Regions from separate parts of the Homo sapiens genome. Here region 1 is linked to region 2. Evidence: promoter capture Hi-C in human tissues and cell types (Jung and others, 2019). All regions are on one chromosome and are shown on one strand. Each heading gives the region's core, a stretch centred on a gene start or on the middle of the fragment in contact. The rest is flanking DNA. Distances are from core to core; before and after follow the strand shown.

Evidence for each region. The method cuts DNA at HindIII sites, captures the fragments that hold promoters and counts their contacts. A contact is called where the count stands out against the background at its distance.
Region 1: a contact is called between a fragment that was not itself captured here and the fragment with the promoter of STX1A in region 2, in 1 of the 25 tissues and cell types used here (lymphoblastoid cells).

Annotation. Positions count from the first base shown.
Region 1 is chr7:73,873,173-73,875,872 of GRCh38, reverse strand. No RefSeq gene overlaps it. Among named protein-coding and RNA genes, the nearest start is that of TMEM270, 13 kb to the right of the region's middle. The HindIII fragment of the contact is 7,065 bases long and covers 1-2,700 here.
Region 2 is chr7:73,718,419-73,721,118 of GRCh38, reverse strand. It overlaps STX1A (syntaxin 1A), which reads left to right and starts at 1,450. Exons shown (of 10, transcript NM_004603.4): 1 at 1,450-1,517. The coding sequence starts at 1,488. RefSeq lists silencers at 1,335-1,534, 1,595-1,794, 1,805-1,864, 1,975-2,054. The HindIII fragment of the contact is 19,582 bases long and covers 1-2,082 here.

The DNA.
Region 1 (2,700 bases), core at 191-2,690, 150 kb before region 2:
CGTGGGCCGGGCACAGTGGCTTGCGCCTGTAATCCCAACACTTTGGGAAGCTGAGGCAGGTGGATCACCTGAGGTCAGGAGTTCGAGACCAACCTGAGCAACATGGTGAAACCCCGTCTCTACTAAAAATTCAAAAATCAGCCAGGCATGGTGGCACGTGCCTGTAATCCCAGCTACTCCGGAGGCTGAGGCAGAAGAATTGCTGGAACCCAGGAGGCAGAGGCTGCAGTAAGCCGAGATCACACCACTTCACTCCAGCCTGGGCAACAGGAGTGAAATTCCATCTCAAAAAAAAAAAAAAAAAGTGTGGAGGTACACAGGCTTTGAAGTCAGACCCTCTGGTTTGAATCCCAGGCAGCACCCTCACCTCAGGGTCAGGTGCTCCCCCAGGAGACTAGGCCACAGTGGGTGGGTCCTCCAAGGTTGACCTCTTGGCCCTCCGCAGCCCCAAATTCCCACCCTTTAAAAGAGCCAGGGGAGGCCGGGCACGGTGGCTCACGCCTGTAATCCCAGCACTTTGGGAGGCCGAGGCAGGTGGATCACGAGGTCAGGAGATCGAGACCATCCTGGCTAACATGGTGAAACCCCATCTCTACTAAAAATACAAAAAAAAAAAAAATTAGCTGGGCATGGTGGCGGGCGCCTGTAGTCCCAGCTACTCGGGAGGCTGAGGCAGGAGAATGGCGTGAACCCAGGAGGCAGAGCTTGCAGTGAGCTGAGATCGCGCCACTGCAGTCCAGCCTGGGCGACAGAGCGAGATTCCCTCTCAAAAAAAAAAAAAAGAAGAGCCAGGGGAACCCAGCTCCCTGGCCACCGGAATCAGATCATGCAAAGCCCATCTTTGTTTGACTTTGGAAGGCTTGACAAGGTGGGACACTGCCCTTCCACACCTGGACACCTCGTCTGACGACCTGGGGGAGATAGGACAGATGATCCTGGTAACTCAGCCAATTCTGCTTCTCCTCCTGGGCACAGCCCAGGGACATCACCTCTGAGGGCCTTAGCGCCATCCCTCTCACTGTCTGGCTCTGTCTACCTCTCTCTGCTCTTTCTGTCTCCCCAACCCCACCCCAGCTTGCAGAGAGGCCGGATGTAGCAGTGGTCCATCCTGGCCAAGGACACAGATTTGGCCAGGCATGGTGGCTCATACCTGCAATCCCAGCACTTTGGGAAGCCAAGGCAGGAGGATCGCTTAACTCCAGGAATTTGAGACCAGCCTGGGCAACATAGTGATACCCCATCTCTTTTTTTTTTTTTTGAGATGGAGTCTCACTCTGTCACCCAGGCTGGAGTGCAGAGGTGTGATCTTGGCTCACTGCAACCTTTGCCTCCCAGGTTCAAGTGATTCTCCTGCCTAAGCCTCCTCAGTAGCTGTCACTACAGGTGCATGCCACCATGCCCAGCTAACTTTTGTATCTTTAGGAGTTGCACCATGTTGCCCAGGCTGGTCTTGAACTCCTGAGCTCAAGCAATCTGCCCGCCTCAGCCTCCCAAAGTGCTAGGATTACAGGCATAAGCCACCACACCCAGCCATGAGACTCCAACTCTAAAAAATATAAATATGTATTTTATATATATATATATATAATATATATATTAGCCAGGTGTGGTAGCTTACACCTGTAGTCCCAGCTACTCAGGAAGCTGAGGCAGGAGGATTGCTTGAGCCCAGGAGTTTGAGGCTGCAGTGAGCTATGATCATGCCACTGCACTCTAGCCTGGGCAACAGAGACCTTGTCTAAAAAAAGGGGGAGGGAGACACAGACTTTGGAGCCAGTCTTCCCGGTTTGCATCCCAGCTCTGCTACCCAATAACCAAGCAGAACTTAAGCCTCAGGTTCCCCATCTGTAAAATGGGTTAAATGGTAACAACAGTGCCTCCCTCCCAGGGAGACTGGAATGAGTTAATACAAGCAAAGCCCTCAGAACAGTATCTGGCCCATAGCGAATATTTAATAAATGCTAGCCCTCGTTATTTTTTATTTGTGTCTTCATCCTGCATGTTTGCTGACTCAAATTTTCCTTGGGTAAGGAGGTGCGGGAGAAGGCATGGGGCTCTGTGGTTTGAATTGCCTGTTGCTCCAGGCCTCCGGGCTGCAGGCTACAATAAAGCACTTCTTTCAATCTGGGCCAATGATGCTTCGATAAAGCTTGACCACAGGATGCAGGATCGCCAGGCTCTGCAAACACAACCCAGGCCTCGGAGGCTGGGCCAGCACCAGAGCTAAGACTGTTCCGGGCAGGCAGGCAGCAAGGTCCCCAGTTCCAGGCCACGGGCTGTGGCCATCCCCTGCTTCCCTCCTCACCCCCCACTCACCCCAACCCTGCACGCCAAATCTCCGGCCTCCACCCCAAGGCTATTCACATCCCCTATCCTAGAAGACTGAGAATCTGGGAAGGCAGCATCGCAGAATCCTTGAATCTTGGAGTTACAAGGCTTTAGCATAGTGCTAGGAGGTTGCCTCACACAGCCTCAGACTCCTTGCAAGAATAACCTCTGCCGGCTGGGTTCGGTGGCTCATGCCTGTAATCCCAGCACTTTGGGAGGTCGAGGCAGGCAGATCACCTGAGGTCAGGAGTTTGAGATCAGCCTGGCCAACATGGTGAAACCCCACCTCTACTAAAAATACAAAAAATTAGCCGGGTGTGGTGGTGCGTGCCTGTAATCCCAGCTACTCTGGAGGCTGAGGCAGTAGAATTG
Region 2 (2,700 bases), core at 201-2,700:
GCTGAGGCAGGCAGATCACTTGAGGTCAGGAGTTCGAAACCAGCCTGGACAACATGGTGAAACCCCTTCTCTACTAAAAATACAAAAAAATTAGCCAGGCGTGGTTGTGGGTGCCTGTAATCTCAAGCTACTTGGGAGGCTGAGGCAGGAGAATTGCTTGAACTCGGGAGGTGGAGGTTGCAGTGAGCCAAGATCGTGCTACTGCACTCCAGACTGGGCAACAGAGTGAGACTCCGTCTCAAAAAAAAAAAAAAAAAATAGGCCGGGCACGGTGGCTCACGCCTATAAGCCCAGCACTTTGGGAGGCCGAGGCGGGAGAATCAAGAGGTCAAGAGTTTGAGACCAGCCTGCTCAACATGGTGAAACCCTGTCTCTACTAAAAAATACAAAAAATTAGCCGGGCGTGGTGGTGGGCACCTGTAATCCCAGCTACTTGGGAGGATGAGGCAGGAGACTCGCTTGAACCCAGGAGGCAGAGCTGAGATAGCGCCACTGCACTCCAGCCTGGGCGACAAGAGTGAAACTCCATCTCATAAATAAATAATCAAACAAACAAACAAACATAAAAAGATAGAGGAGTTCCTTCATCCTGCAGGAAAAAGGGGTGGGTCACGCAGCATCAGAGCTGTGAACTGAGAAATCCTAGGGAAAGAAGAGGCCAGTGCCTGAGTCCCTACTGGATGATGGGAGCAAGGGGGAAGGGTGGAGGCTCCCAGACTGGAACTCTCCAGGAGGTTTTTGGCTGGGGAACAGAAGGGAGAGCAGGAGGTCCCAAGGTAATGAAATGAAGGAGGGAGTTACAACCTTCAGCAAATTCTGGGGAAGTGAAGGGATCTGAGGATGAGGACCGGATTCTGGGACAGGGATGCTGAGCTGCTAAGTCGGGAAGAGGCTGGAAGCCAGGCACGGTGGCTCACGCCTGTAATCGCAGAGCTTTGGGAGGAGGGAGGATCGCTTGAGGACAGGAGTTCAAGACCAGCCTGAGTAACATAGCAAGACCCTGTCTCTACAAAATATTTGAAAATTATTCAGGAGTAGTGGCGAGCAACTCTAGTCCCAGCCACCCAGGAGACTGAGGCGGGAGGATTGCCTGAGCTCAGGAGCTCAAGGCTGCAGTGAGCTATGATTGCACCACAGCACTCCAGCCTGGGCGACAGAGCGAGACCCTGTCTCCAAAAATAATAAATAAAAAACGAGACAGGGCTGGGGCAGAGGAGGCAGCAGGGTCTCTGGGGACCCATCCCCGGGAGCGATCACGCGTGCGGAACGTCCAGGACGAGACCCCAGGGCTTCGATCCCCACGGGGCTGCTCGTGCGGGGTGGGGCGGGGTCTGGGCGGGGTCTGGGCGGGGCCCGGGCGGGGTGGGGCGGGGCCGGGGTCCCGGGGGCCGGGGCGGGGCCGGGCTGGCGCTGCGCAGCCGCGGGGCGGCCGTCGCGCATGCGGGGCTCACACGGCTGCAGCCGGCGCCGCTGCCACTCCCGGGAGCATGAAGGACCGAACCCAGGAGCTCCGCACGGTGAGTCCGGCCCCAGCGCGCGGCCGCCCGCCGCCCGCCGCCAGCGCCAACGCGCCGGACACTTCCCGCCCGGCTCCCGCGGCCAGGATGGTGGCCGCTCCTGCGCCCCCAGCCAGGGCTGAAGGGAGCGGGGCGAGCCAGGGACCTCGACCCCCCTCCGGGTTCCGCCCCTCGGACCCACTCGGGGTCAGGCTCGCGTGAGCTCGGCCGCGCTGACACGTGGACGGTCGGCTGGAGTCCGGGGTCCTGGATAAACTTTTCGGGGCCCTCTTGATTTGGGGGGTTCGGAGGGTATGATGGGGTTTTGGTGGCGGGACCTCTTCCCCCTCCCGCAGAGCAGGCCCTTTCTCTGGCCCCCTCACTGCCCCTCATCTCTGACCTCCCGTGCCCCCTCGGTGTAGACAGACGAGGGGACCGCGGTGGGAACCTCCTTGGTGTAGACAGACGAGGGGACCGCGGTGGGCCGGTGCCGGTCCCCTGCGCGGGGCCCCGCTGCGGGGCGCGCTGCGGAAACCTGATCGTCGGGTGGTGGCGGCCTCCTCGGGCCACCCTGGTCACCTGTGGCTCCCATCACCTGTGGCTCCCCCTCTGCTTGGTCGCAGTAGGGATCCACTGCCCGCCCCAGGTATGGGGGGGGGGGCGTCACACCCGCCCCCGGTCCACCTATCCACCTTCGGGCTTTCGGGCAGCACTGGCTGGCGTTTCCAGACCCTTCAGGGTTCCTTGCGACTTGGATCTATTTTTCTACCTGTATCTGGGAAACCCCTGGGGTGTGGCTCCTGGGGCGGGGTTTGGGGGGAGTAGGAGGATGCACAAACGTTCTGAGTCAGAGCCCACCTTCTCCCAGCCCAGAGACCCCTGCAGCCTGCGTGGGTCCCCTTCCCCTGGCCTCTGCCCTTAGGGATGAGGAGCCCAGGAGGATGGTGACCGGGAGTGGAGGACAGCGACGGAAATGAAGCCTCTCTGGGTGTGTCGGGGAGGGGGGGTGGATCAAGGCTCAAGACTAGATTGAGTCTCATCTGGTCATCTGGTCCCCTGGCTGGCCACCTGGCTGGCAGCCCTGCCTGCTGATCCCTGGGAGCACCCCCCACCCCGCTCCCTGGGCTAGGAACTAGAACCCTAAGGTCCCCTCCTATGGAAAATGTCAAGTGTCCTTTGGGCATTTGACCCCACGGCTTGTCTT